5 separate regions of the Homo sapiens genome follow, and regions 1, 2, 4 and 5 are each linked to region 3. The links are contacts of gene promoters, found by promoter capture Hi-C in blood cells and fetal thymus (Javierre and others, 2016). All regions are on one chromosome and are shown on one strand. Each heading gives the region's core, a stretch centred on a gene start or on the middle of the fragment in contact. The rest is flanking DNA. Distances are from core to core; before and after follow the strand shown. Region 1 overlaps LEF1 (lymphoid enhancer binding factor 1). Region 2 overlaps LEF1 (lymphoid enhancer binding factor 1). Region 3 holds the start of RPL34 (ribosomal protein L34). Region 4 has its middle 4.0 kb from the start of PAPSS1. Region 5 overlaps LEF1 (lymphoid enhancer binding factor 1).

What was found. The method cuts DNA at HindIII sites, captures the fragments that hold promoters and counts their contacts. A CHiCAGO score of 5 or more calls a contact.
Region 1: a contact is called between a fragment that was not itself captured here and the fragment with the promoter of RPL34 in region 3, in 7 of 17 cell types (fetal thymus, naive CD4 T cells, naive CD8 T cells and 4 more). The highest score is 13.8, in fetal thymus.
Region 2: a fragment that was not itself captured here is called in contact with the fragment with the promoter of RPL34 in region 3 in 9 of 17 cell types (megakaryocytes, naive CD4 T cells, fetal thymus and 6 more); the score reaches 21.6 in megakaryocytes.
Region 4: a fragment that was not itself captured here is called in contact with the fragment with the promoter of RPL34 in region 3 in 6 of 17 cell types (total B cells, total CD8 T cells, naive B cells and 3 more); the score reaches 15.6 in total B cells.
Region 5: a fragment that was not itself captured here is called in contact with the fragment with the promoter of RPL34 in region 3 in 8 of 17 cell types (fetal thymus, naive CD4 T cells, activated CD4 T cells and 5 more); the score reaches 12.7 in fetal thymus.

What each region holds. Positions count from the first base shown.
Region 1 is chr4:108,097,273-108,099,972 of GRCh38, reverse strand. All of the region lies in intron 3 of LEF1 (lymphoid enhancer binding factor 1), which reads left to right. Among named protein-coding and RNA genes, the nearest start is that of LEF1-AS1, 69 kb to the left of the region's middle. The HindIII fragment of the contact is 1,443 bases long and covers 604-2,046 here.
Region 2 is chr4:108,054,235-108,056,934 of GRCh38, reverse strand. All of the region lies in intron 11 of LEF1 (lymphoid enhancer binding factor 1), which reads left to right. Among named protein-coding and RNA genes, the nearest start is that of HADH, 66 kb to the right of the region's middle. RefSeq lists an enhancer at 1-460. The HindIII fragment of the contact is 706 bases long and covers 1,060-1,765 here.
Region 3 is chr4:108,619,314-108,622,013 of GRCh38, reverse strand. It overlaps RPL34 (ribosomal protein L34), which reads right to left and starts at 1,438. Exons shown (of 5, transcript NM_001319236.2): 1 at 1,414-1,438; 2 at 1-63. The coding sequence starts at 54. RPL34-DT (RPL34 divergent transcript) reads left to right here and starts at 1,557. Exons shown (of 4, transcript NR_026968.1): 1 at 1,557-1,706. RefSeq lists enhancers at 1,426-1,475, 701-1,900. The HindIII fragment of the contact is 3,742 bases long and covers 1-1,908 here.
Region 4 is chr4:107,722,870-107,725,569 of GRCh38, reverse strand. No RefSeq gene overlaps it. Among named protein-coding and RNA genes, the nearest start is that of PAPSS1, 4.0 kb to the right of the region's middle. The HindIII fragment of the contact is 4,310 bases long and covers 1-2,700 here.
Region 5 is chr4:108,073,352-108,076,051 of GRCh38, reverse strand. All of the region lies in intron 8 of LEF1 (lymphoid enhancer binding factor 1), which reads left to right. Among named protein-coding and RNA genes, the nearest start is that of HADH, 85 kb to the right of the region's middle. The HindIII fragment of the contact is 8,586 bases long and covers 1-2,700 here.

The DNA of each region.
Region 1 (2,700 bases), core at 76-2,575, 520 kb after region 3:
ATCAGTAACTTGTAATGAATCTGAAAATGTGTGTTAGGTATTTGTAAAAGTTATCTGAGTTGACTGGCAAGTTGAAGAAGTTACATATAACTGCTTCAAGACACACAATTTAATCATAAGGATCATTCTACCCTGCTTTTAGTAATTTTTTTTACACCATAAAATGAAAGGTTATAGTTCTGTACTAGTTGTCATATAAATATTTGGTTTTAAATATATTGACTTTAGCATTTGGAGAAATACCTAATGTAGATGATATAGGTTGATGGGTGCGGCAAACCACCAGGGCACGTGTATACCTATGTAACAAACCTGCATGTTCTGCACACGTACCCCATAATTTCAAGTATTATTTATATATATATATATATATATATATATATATATATATATATATATATACACACACACACACATACACACACACACATATACACATATATATATATATATACATACACATATATATATACATACATGTGTATAGACTTGACTCTCAGTATGGGATATTGAAATGTAATGTTAAATTACCAGCTCTGCCACTTACCTTCTCTGATTTTCAGTTTTTTTACCCATAAGAGTTCTTTTCCATACAAGGAAGCTTTGTTTCAAAAACGCCAATTTTTTTGTTTAAGTCAAATTGGAGTACGAGACAGAAAGGGGGCAGTCCCACCTACAAATTTTTAAACTGTAAGCAGAACTGCCTGATAGAAATGTAGTGCAGATCACAAATGCAAGTCATATATGTAATTTTATGTTTTCTTAAGCTACATCAAAAGGTAAAGACAGGTAAAATTAATTTTAGTAATAAATTTATTGAACATAATATGTCAAAAATGTTATTTGAGCATGTAATCAATATAAACATACTGAGATCATTTACATTATTTTCACACACAGTATTTGAATTCTAGTATGTATTTTACACTTATGGCATGTCTCAACTTGGACTAGCCACCTTTCAAGGGCTCGACCTAATGCCTAATGGCTACCATATTGGACAGCACAACTCTACAACGCTATAGAATAGCTTTAATGCTGATCTTACAGTGTAAATATCAAATTTACATGTTCATAGAAAATGATTTGAGTTTTCCAATAACTTTACCTCTCAATTATTCATACTTTTAGTCCCAATCTGACTGATAGTAGCTGAACCCAAGTAACTTGTTGTATTTTCCCCATTTGATTTCTGAAAGGCACTTCAGAAGTTCTATAGAAAAATGAGGACCCCTGTAGACATAAATGTTATCTTTTCACTTACTAAAACACCCAATTTTAAGTAGAGAATACTGTATATATATGGCACTTATTAAAATCAGAGAAGGCTCGGTGGGACAAAATTGTACACATAAGTATTTCTGTTACTGTCCTGTAAATCCTTCACACCTGATCTTAAAGAATCAGTTTTACTTAAACTAAAATAAGGCAAATGCTTTTCCTAGAAACTTAAGTGTGAAAGCCCCCCCTTTGAATATGAAATAATTAGATTTAAGTCTGTTGGCTTCGCTTATGGAATTTTGCACCCTCCATTTGCAGTCTGAACATTTAAACAGACCATCTGCACTTCGTATCTGGGTAACTGTGGGACTTCTCTGACCTTGACCTTGGGCAGACTGTAGCTTGCCGAACCCCACCCCCACAACCCCGCCACAGGAGATCTAGAGTCCATTTCTCAGGCCCAACCATTCATTGTTTCCTGCTGGACATTCTGAGTGCCAAGGAGAGCCCTTCCACCCTCTAAACTGCATAATAGAGAGGTGTGGCTGTGGTGGCAGTGGGAAGTCCCTCCCTCTGAATATGCCATCCCTGGGCAGTGGAGGAGAGAGGCTTTTCAACCAACATGTCCCCAGACCAGCACCAGAAAACCTTGTTGAGCCTATTCAGGATTGATGGCTGATGAGGTTCTGAGGAAATCTTTCTGGAATTTGTCCCCCCTGAACCAACCCGCCCCAAACAGTGCCCTCCCTCTCTGGTTCTGGAGTCCCTGGGGTTGCCTCATGTCGCCTCCGGTCTGAGCTCTCTGGATGGTAGACAGAGAAAGCTTTTGCTCCTGACTTCTCACTCACTTTAATTGATTTGTTTACCTTCCATTATTTTCCACTGACCTGCACAAATACTACTTTCATCAAGCTGACTACACTTCAGCTTATTAATCATAATAAGTTATTATGCAGTGATTGGATTGGTAAAATACTTCTCTCAGAATAAGGCAGCAGATATTAAAAAATGTCTAGGTTTTAATCATTATGGGTACATAATAGGTATGTATATTTATGGGGTACATGTGATGTTTTGATATAGGCATACAAGGTGTAGTAATCATGTCCAGGTAATTGGGGTATCCATCTCCTCAAGCATCTATCATTTCATTGTGTTAGGAACATTCCAATTCCACTCTTTTAGTTATTTTAAAACTTACGATAAATTATTGTTGACTATAGTCACGCTGTTGTGCTAGCTATCAAAACTAGATCTTATCCTAACTATATTTTTGCACTCATTAACCATCCCCACTCACCCAACCCCCATTCCAAGCTGCTGGTAACCATCATTCTACTCTGTATCTCCGTGAGTTCAACTGTTTTAATTTTTAGCTCTCACAAATGAGTGAGAATGTGGTTATTTGTTTCTCTGTGCCTGGCTTATTTCACATAACATAATGTCATCCAGTTCCATCCATGTTGTTGCAAATGCAAA
Region 2 (2,700 bases), core at 163-2,662, 570 kb after region 3:
CCTGCAGTGGTTTTTTTTTTTTTTTTTTGAATAGTGGCCTAGCCCAGTTGGGGGTACCTTGTGCTGCCATTTTACCACAGTGGTGAGGTCCTGTGGAAGCGACTGCTGGCGTGCTGTTTATCTTGCATGGATTGCCAGATCGCTGCATAGGAGGTGGAGGTTGTGGTGGCCCGGAGAGGCTCCCATATGTGTCGTTTCTGGGAATGCTCCAGTCTGAGGTGACGGCCTACCTGTGTCTTCCTTCTTTTTATGCTTGTGTTCAGAAATCCCTGTGACACCTGTCACAGACTAACAGGAAATGTGTACAGGATTCACAAGGTGATGACACTTGACTACAGATAATCTCAGGCTTGGTTTCATTGTCTTAAATAGCAATGGCAGCATAATGACAGTGTGGTTAGACTCAGTTATGCGTGGACTGCAGTTTTTCACATCCTGGCCATTGTTCCAGGATCCCTAGGTGCATTCATGGGAGCCTTTTGATGGCAAGTGCCGGAAACAAATGGTGCTCACTTAAGGAGAAAGGGGAAATGTGTTTTAAGGATATAGGAGCATCTTGTGGAATCCAAGGACAGTAGAGCAGTTGGGCCAAAAAGAAAACTGGAAATTGGAAAGCTGTCCAGACACTTTCCCTGCTGCTTCCATCTGTCCCTCCCTGAAAATCACTTCCTCCTTCCCTTCCCAGATTGACTCTCTCAGTTCTCTGAGCCTTATGTTTAGAGCACTCAAGCTATATGTTGTTACAATATCATCTCCCAAAGAGACAATAATTCTTTCAAATTCTGTAGAAGCGACTCTGGTTAGCCCAACTTGGGTCAAACTTCCACCCCAATCTATAATCAGCTGTGGCCAGAGGAGAAGGTCACATTGTACAAAATGGCTGTCAGGAGCTCACTGCTCTAACAGTGTTGGAGTTGGGATAATGGAGAGGAGAGCTGGACAGCAGCCCGACAGATGTCCGCTATAGCTCACTAGGAAGCTGATAGTTGGGGTGGTTTTATCTAGACAGCTCTGTGTTAATAAAGAAATTGGGTTGGGTTCATGGGTACAGTGAAAGCTTTTAAGAATGGGCAGTATCCCTTCCATCAATTATCTTTTCTCTCCTTAATGATCAGAAGAGCTAGAATTGTGTTTAAGTTGCCTTGGGGAGCAGAAATAGAGAAATAGACCCTCAGGTAGCAAGACTGATCTGATGCCATTAAAAAATAATAGCAGAGGGAGAGGAGTATATGAGGTTCATTAAAACCCTCTTGAAATGCTTCATGTTTAGTATTGTTCATGAAAACTTACCAAATGGAATTAAGATCAATGCACTAGAATATAGAATAAAAAAGAAGTATTTTGGATAAATTTTGTTTAATAGAACTGTTTGTTACTGAGTTGTGAGGAACTGTGTGGAAATGAGCCCTTCTGGATAATGGAGTTTTTCAGAGAAGCTATATGGTTTACATCTTTAAGTGTCAAAACATGTAATTTTTCAAAGCACTTTTGGATGCAACTCTGTCTTCTTCAGCAGAGTACATTGAAATTGATTTGAATACGAATACCTCATGCCATTATTTTACAGTGAATATTATATATGCCACAAGGAGTATGGTGATTTGTATAATACTATTCTAAATGACCCCAAATAACATGGAATTTTAAGAAACTGCTTTTTAATAATTCTTTTGTGGCTTCCTTTGCTGTTTGGGACTATACCCTGTACCCACAATAATATGTTTCTTCTGATCTGTGTGGATTTAGGAACCAGGAAAATGAAGCTTAATTGAATAATATGTAAATTAAAAGTAAATGGGGTCTGATTTGGGGTATAGAGAAAGGCTAAAATGTGCTATTTTAAGAAAGGCTAAAATGTGCTATTTTTGCACATAAATTTCATGACATTACTGTGATACCTTGAGATAGTTTTAACGTGTTTTTCCTCAGCAGTGTTCTTCATAAATGAAGCTACCATGTTACTGAGAGCCAGATGAGTGGGAAATCCTGCTGCTCATAGCTGTCTGTGACCTTTAGCAAAGTAACTTTATTCTTTTTGACAGAATGAAAGAAAAATTAAAAGCATTAAAAATTAAACTCACTTTTTGGCATAAGGTTTACATCAATCTCTACACTAAATTTTTCTAACTGCCTATATATCGTTTTTGTGAATCTAACTTTTTTTTTGTATTGGGATTAGTTTTTCTCAGCTAGCATCATGCTTTTAGAAGCATTCTGTTTCATAAGAGATATTTTAATTAATTGGCAGAATACCCTGTTGGTCTTAATTTTCTACCAGAAGTTCTGTAATAGTATGAATCTTGCTTGCTGCCCCGAATGTGTCGTGTGAAGTTGGAACAGCAGAAATGGTCCCAACCTGTATGGACCACCTGCCACATTCCAGAGGCTTTAACAGATGCTTCTGCATGTGTTGCCTCCTCTCGTTCTGTAGCAGCCCCATTGTGGGGTGGAGGGGACAGATTTCAGTTCTGTCTGAAGGATGAGAAAATAATCACTTGTCCAGGGCCATGCAGCTGGCGAGTAGCAGCGCTGCGTCTGCAGAGTGAATTACCATCAGCTCTGAGCCCCAGTTCTCCATCCTCTGCTGTTACTGCACTCACTACGCTGCTTCAGGGCGTCTGCCCTGCACTCGCCCGGCTCTGCACATACGTCTCCCACATCCCGCAGCGCACCTGATGAGGTAGAGCAGCTTCTTATCTT
Region 3 (2,700 bases), core at 189-2,688:
GTTAGAGGCTGTATTGTAGGAAAGCCTACGTCGGTATGTCAAACGCTGGACCATTCTGAGTGCCTAAATTAAGAATAGAGTAACATCAAATCTTTCCATTGTAAAAGTAAATAAAATCTCAAAACAGTATCATGTGGTCTATTTCATTCACATACATATCCTTGTATGTAACACCCTTAAATTAAGATGTATTATTCCACATTTTAAAACTACTTGTATTTAAAGGTGACTGATAAACAAGAGGCCAAGAATGTTAGCTTTCCTGATGGTAATCAAACGTGGCACTTCCTTAACGTTCTGATGACCAGGCTCCTTACTCAGAGTCTAATTTTGTTTGGAGTGGTGTCCAGAAAAGTGCCACGAGCCCAGTTGGAGAAACACCGCTTTAAACAAAGAGCACAAAAAGTGAGCTCTGAAGTCGAATCCTTAGCTATGCCATTTACTGGGAATATAAAGGGCAAGGAGCTAGCCTCCTTATCTCTAACATGGGAATTCTGTCTACTTTATACAGCTGTCATTAGGATTAAACGACGTGGGCTATCCGTCCCAACACAATGCCTGGCACATATCAGGGTTCAATGTCTTGCCCTAAAGCACCACCTGCGTAAAGGCATACCCTTTAATACTAATTTTGATATTACACAAGTTTCTTTGGGTTATGGCACCTGCTTTCTTCCCACTTCTGGAAACATCGTGATGTTATTTAGCAAATCGGTTATACAGATATGCATACGAGCAACTTCGTTAAGGGAACTACCCAACGTAAAACATAATCAATACTTGAACTAATTTAATCTTCCCATTCCACCCCTTGTAACCACCTCATTTGTTGTCACAAGCCTCTCACTAAAATTAAACTAAAACAGAATTACCAGACACCAAAACTTGACACGTAAAACCAGTGCGAGTGATTTATGAAGCCATTATTCTGTTTGCATCTCCAAAAGCAAGACAGAAACTTCTAACACATTTTTCTCTTCCTTGACATGGGCCTTGGACGCAGAAGCCAAATAGCGAAACCACCCGAACTCGCCGGACCCTGCCCTCCCAAAGACTAAGGACACGTACAGGCGTGCTGTGAAAACGTGGGTGTAAAATATGAAAACGTTTGGCGATTTTCCAGACTCAAACCGCCAAACCACAACTCGTTAGTCTCCAAACGCTACACTTGGAATGCAGCAAAGTCCCGGGTGGTGAGCTGTGGCTACTCACGGCTTTGGAGGTGCCACCAGGAACAAGGGATTTCCAAAGATCAAAGTAAGGAACTTCCTCACCACCAACCTCCCTGTTGTGCCCCTTACCCCTACACCAGCTCAAAGGACTGCTTCTGAGAGCTCTAGGCTTCCTCAGCTCCTCGGATGGCAGCCGATTGGTAAGGAAATAAAGACAGGGAAAAGAGAACAACATCCATACCTGCAGACAACGTCCCCGGAAGAGGAAGAAAAAAGCCTTTGCCAGTTCAAAGGTCAAATAGAATTGCGCAGGACAGGAAGTTGCGTCAGAGAGAGAGTATCCGTGTTGTACGGAAGCCGACGCACCTCTCCGACGTGGGCAGAGATGCAGGGAACCACCACGTTGTACGGCAACCAACGTGCCGCCCCTCTGTGGGCGGGGATTCACACTAGCTGTCTGTGTCAAGGCCACGCAGAAATCTATTGGAAATCGCTGTGGAAACAAACGCAAATGAAAAGCCGCAAAGAGCAAAGGTGGGACAAAATCAACTTCTTTCGTTGTCATGGACACTGCACTTTTAATCTAAAGGGCGCCAGCTCTGGCGTTAGACCTGGGTTTAAATCCCAACTCTTGACATTTATGGTTAAGGGACCTTCAAGGACCAGGGACCTTCAAGAACCTTCCCTTCTTCAACCTTCCCTTCTCTTTCCTTGTCATTTATTCAGAGCACAAGCTTTACAAACAAATTGGGATTTTAATCCAGTGTCTGCTAATTATTAGCTATGTTACTTTGAGCAAGCCCTTAAATCTCTAAAAGGAAGATATTAGGAACTACCGTGCCATGTTATGTCATGATCAAAGGCATTATGAAGTTAAAGCACTTAGCACAGGGTCTTATAGAGAGGAAGTGCTCAGTAAATGGTTGCTAATCTTATGATTATGTACAAAGAACTACTTGAGGCTTTTCATGGGTGGTAAAGTTTAACCTTTAAAACAGTATGTAAAATTTTACATTAAGCGCACGTGTGTATTTTTCTGAGAAGAGGGTCCCTGGCTTTCATCACCTTGTCAAAGGGATTCATGACCTCTAAAAAAGTAAAGAACTCTTTGCCTGGGCTGTAAAAGACAATTCTAAAAGGGGCCTTTAAGTTTTTAATCTTAGATCAGGCTCCCTGGAAACACACCTCGAAGAGACTTGAGTGTTGGCTTATGGGGAGCGCTCTTAGAATGCACCTCCAGGAAGCTGAGAAAGGCGGGGTCAGGTGATCCACAACGTGGTTGCTGTGAGGCAGCTGCATTGCCCCAGAAGAGAGGATTTGGATAGGATATCCCAGTACCCACTCAACTTTCCTTCTAGTATTTCTAATCCATCTAGCAAACCAAGAAAGCAGGCAAGTGACTGAGGGCATGTAGTCTGTCTTGAACTGTGAGGCCTATTGATTCTATCAAGCCTCACATCACTGCCATCTTTGTCACAACACCAGATGGAAGGCTCTGGTTATATCCTTCCCTCTGCTCACTCTCAAA
Region 4 (2,700 bases), core at 54-2,553, 900 kb after region 3:
TTGAGAGACAGCTTGTGGCCTGTTACTGGGCTTTGGTGGAAACTGAATGTTTGACTATGGGTCATCAAGTCATTATGTGACCTCAACTGCCTATCATGAACTGTGTGCTTTCTGACCCATCTGGCCATAAAGTGAGTCATGCACAGCAGCATTCCATCAGCAAATGGAAGTGGTATATTTGTCATAGGGCTTGAGCAGGTCCTGAAGGCGCAAGTAAGTTACATGAGGAAGTGGCTCAAATGCCCATGGTCCCCATTCCTGCCACCCTGCCTTCTGTCCCCCAGCCTGCACTGATGGCCTCATGGGGCGTTCCCTATGATCAGTTGACAGAGGAAGAGAAAATCAGGGCCTGGTTCATAGATGGTTCTACATGATATGTAGGCACCACCCGAAAGTGGATAGCTGCAGCACTACAGCCCCTTCCTAGGACATCCCTGAAGGACAGCAATGAAGGGAAATCTTCCCAATGGGCGGAACTTCGAGCAGCGCACCTGGCTGTGCACTTTGCATGGAAGGAGAAATGGCCAGATGTGCAATAATACACTGATTCATGGGCTGTAGCCACTGGTTTGGCTTAATGGCCAGGGACTTGTAAGAAGCATGATTGGAAAATTGGTGACAAAGACATTTGGGGAAGAGGTATGTGGATGGACCTCTCTGAGTGGTCAAAAACTGTGAAGATACTTATATCCCATGTGAGTGCTCACCAACGGGTGACCTCAGTGGAGGAGGATTTTAATAATCAAGGGGATAGGATGAACCATTCTGTTAACAGCACTCAGCCTCTTTCCCCAGCCACCCCTGTCATTGCCCAATGGGCCCATGAACAAAGTGGCCATGATGGCAGGGATGGAGGTTATGCATGGGATCAGCAACATGGACTTCCACTCATGAAGGCTGACCTGGCTATGGCCACCAATGAGTGCCCAATTTGCCAGCAGCAGAGACCAACACTGAGCCCGCAATATGACACCATTCCTCAGGAGATCAGCCAGCTACCTGGTGGCAGGTTGATTATATTGGACCTCTTGCATCATGGAAAGGGCAGAGGTTTGTCCTCACTGGAATAGACATTTACTCTGGATATGGGTTTGCCTATCCTGCATGCAATGTTTCTGCCAAGACTACCATCCGTGGACTCACGGAATGCCTTATCCACCATTATGGTATTCCACACAGCTTTGCCTCTGACCAAGGCATTCACTTTACCACTAAAGAAGTGTGGCAGTGGGTTCATGCTCATGGAATTCACTGGTCTTACCATGTTCCCCATCATCCTGAAGCAGCCGGGTTGACAGAACAGTGGAACGACCTTTTGAAATCACAACTACAATGCCGACTAGGTGACAATAGTTTGCAGGGCTGGGGCAAAGATTTCCAGAAGACCGTGTAGGCTCTGAATCAGCATCCAATATATGGTACTGTTTCTCCCGTAGCCAGGAATCACGGGTCCAGGAATCAAGGGGTGGAAGTGGAAGTGGCACCACTCACCATCACCCCTAGTGATCCACTAGCAACATTTTTGCTTCCTGTTTCTATGGCATTACATTCTGCTGGTCTAGAGGTCTTAGTTCCAGAGGGAGAAACGCTGCCACCAGGAGACAAAACAATTCCATTAAACTATAAGTTAAGATTGCCACCTGGACACTTTGGGCTCCTCCTACCTCTAAGTTAACAGACTAAGAAGGGAGTTACAATGTTAGCTGGGGTGACTGACCCAGACTATCAAGATGAAATCAATCAGTCTACTACTCCACAGTGGAGGTAAGAAAGAGTACACATGGAACACAGGAGATCCATTAGTTCGTCTCTTAGTATTACCCTGTGATTAAGGTCAATGGGAAACTACAACAGCCCAATCCAGGCAGGACTACAAATGGCCCAGACCCTTCAGGAATGAAGGTTTGGGTCACTCCACCAGGAAAAAAAAACCACCACCTGTTCAGGTACTTGCTGAAGGCAAAGGGAATACAGAATGGGTAGTAGAAAAAGGTAGTCATCAATACCAGCTATGAGCACATGACCAGCTGCAGAAACGAGGACTGTGATTGTCATGAGAATTTCCTCCTTCTTTTGTTAAAAACATGTTTGTGCATGCATACACTTGTACTAAGAAAATATCTTCATTTTATTTCCTTTTCCTTTATCATGTGATATGAGATTCACTGACTTCATATCAGCATTTAAGTATTGTTAACTTTATGTAATAGTATGTGAGTTGGGGACTGCATTTCCAGTTGTACAAAGGACAGTTCAGTTATGTTAGACATAATTATGACCTTATTATTGTCTTATTTGAAGATTATGAATGATCTCAGGAGATGTGTATGGGTTCAAGTTGTCAAGGGGTGGACTTGTGATGGTTAATACTGAGGGTCAACTTGATTGGATTGAAAGATGCAATATTGATCATTGTCAGGTTGTTACCCAAGGAGATTAACATTTGAGTCAGTGGGCTGGGGAAGGCAGATCCACCCTTAATTGAGTTGGCACCACCTAAACCGCTAACAGGGAATATAAAGCAGGCAGAAAAACGTGAAGAGGCAAGATAGGCCTAGCCTCCCAGCCTACATCTTTCTCTTGTGCTGGATGCTTCCTGCCCTTGAACATCGGACTCCAAGTTGTTCAGTTTTGGGACTTAGACTGGCTCTCCTTGCTCCTCAGCTTGCAGGCAGCCTATTGTAGGACCTTGTGATTGTG
Region 5 (2,700 bases), core at 13-2,512, 550 kb after region 3:
GAAACAGGAAAGCGTTTAGCTCTTTAGGGAGCTACAGCAAGGCCTTTGGGGGACCGTCCTGGCAAACAGAGGTGGCCACTCCTTCCAGGACAGAAGCAGAGCTGTTCTACCATGAGGCTTTACATGGAAGAATGTATATGATCCTGAGGAGTCTTGATTCTAGAAAGACTGTTCTCCAAATCTCCAAGTGTACACCTGCCAGGTTTCTGGGTTGCCCTTTTCTTTTCATTCATTCTTTCACCAATGCTATGATATTTTTCTGAGCCCCTGTTATGTACCAGGCAGCAGGCTACAACTAGGATAGACACTCTAAGATTGTTTATCCAACTGTCAGCCAAAAGACATACATAGTCAGTCCTTCCAAGTACTTTGTATGGGATTGAAGTGATTTCAGTTAGATGGCTGAAGAGTGGTAAGAAAAGTTTGAGTTTCTCTAATTTAAATTACATTTTCACCATAGTCACGTTATCATTATAATTTTAGAAATGTTTCATCTTAATTTGTTGATGCTCTTCATATCTGTGTGGTAGCCTCTTAATTTGTGACCCTGTGTTTGTTTTTGCAACCTCTCAAGAAATTCATGATTGGCAAATGAACATTCAGTTGAGGAGGATCTAACAACCCTTGTGAAACATAGAGGATCATGTGTTAGCTATTGTCGATGATAATTTTACCAGGTCTGTTCTGAACCTAATAAATTTGAGCATTTATAACAGAAAACATTTAGGAGATTTCCAGTCCATGTGAACAGGAGGGAAGCAGGCCCTCTTACATTATCGATTCCCATTGGATAGCCTCAAAATGCAGCTATTTCCAATCTGCAAGTCACCAGGGTTTCCAGGGGAGGATGTGGTGATAGATTATAGCTTTTTTGGTGTCCTGTGTACAATGCCCTATCTCCCTGTGGATTCTTAGACACTTAATAACAATAATTACAATGCTTTCCCAAGCCAGATCATGGCAGATGAGTGATTCCCATCATCTTGGAAGAACTCCGCCTTAAAAACTGATGATCATTTTCCCTGACTCTTTAAAAGAAGAAATCAGAGGAAAAGAAGGGCTGATGTTTTTATTTCAGCTTGTATGCAACTCTTAGTTTTTTCTTTTTTCTTTTTTGAGTTAAGGGCCCCCTGGCCCTCCAGTGGGAATTACTTTCCTGCTGAATACAGAGAGTGAGGATATGATATGAAGGTATGCTTCCTATTCTTAATGCACATTTCCAACAATTGCTACTTTCTCAGCTCCCTTAACAATCCCCAGATCCGAGCATGTGTCCTAAAGGATGGTTCTTATTTGGGGTCTCTGTCTGTCTCTGATTTAGACACCTGTTTCTATTTATAGGTCTCTGAGATCTTTGATTAAGATCAGGTTTTCTATCCTTTCATAACTCCCCTCTGGCAGGGCAGCCCTTGCTAGCTCTTTAAAGTCTCTGGCATCAAAATCATGACGTTTTACACTGGGATAATTTGAGTTCTTAAAAGTGGATCTTAAATCCATCCCAGAACATTTTATCTTTTGATTTTTATTCATCTTTACTATATCTCTAAAATAGTGTTCATATGAATTAATCAAAGTTTTATTTTTAATCCATATTATAAATAATAATATCACAAATTTTATTTTAAAATAAGCCTTTTCTCTTCAGACCTTCCTGGCTATTAAAGGAAATCCATTTATCACAAATTTGTCATGAGAATGTTTTATCTTGGAACTGTACAAGTTTATTCAAATTAAATGGATATTTTCCCCACAACTTGGTGAAATCTTGACAATGAGATTTGATTTTTAAAAAGTTTGACTCTTTATTTTGCAGTAAATAGAGATAGAGAAGCATTTTTAGTCAATTGTGTTTCAGAAATTCCTGTAAAGAAAGACCATCTTTCAGGTCTGTACTAGACTTTGTTTTTGTTTTCAATGCAAAACTTTAATTACATCATTTTATCTACTGTTCATTTTGGTAAGTGATCTTCTATTTGTGAGTCATTTTTGTACATTAGAAATATCAGAGAACTTCCTGGCTAACACGGTGAAACCCCATATCTACTAAAAATACAAAAAAGTAGCCGGGCGTGGTGGGACGCACCTGTCGTCCCAGCTACTAGGGAGGCTGAGGCAGGAGAATCACTTGAACCTGGGAGGCGGAGCTTGCAGTGAGCCGAGATCGCGCCACTGCACTCCAGCCTGGGCAACAGAGCGAGACTCTGTCTCAAAAAAAAAAGGGGGGGGGGTTATCAGAGGACTTAAAGCAATGGAACATGTAAATAAATAGTTTAGTTTATGCCTACTTTGCCTCCTTGCCTTTTATTCAGTTTCGTTAGCTTGGGTCTTTTTGTCAACCTGTTTCTTGTTTTAACTGAAAAATACCTCGTTGTTTGGGTAGAAGACCCAAACTTGATACCTATTTTGGGAGTTAATTTGTATTTATGATTCCAGGTTTTCTCAGCTACTGTAAGTTACGTAAAACTATACTGATACAGTAATAAAAGGTGTTGTATATAGGGGAATGATAGTTGTCAAATAGTAAATTTAAAATGGAAGACTTCCTGTCTTCTTTTATTTTTTTTGTCCCTAATTTTTTTCCTTATTGGTAAAACTTTGCCTCTTGCCAATCATCCTTATTTAGCACTAAAGCTAATTGTGTAAATATCAGTTTTCTTTTTTCTTGTTGAGACAGAGTCTTGCTCTATCACCCAGGCTGGA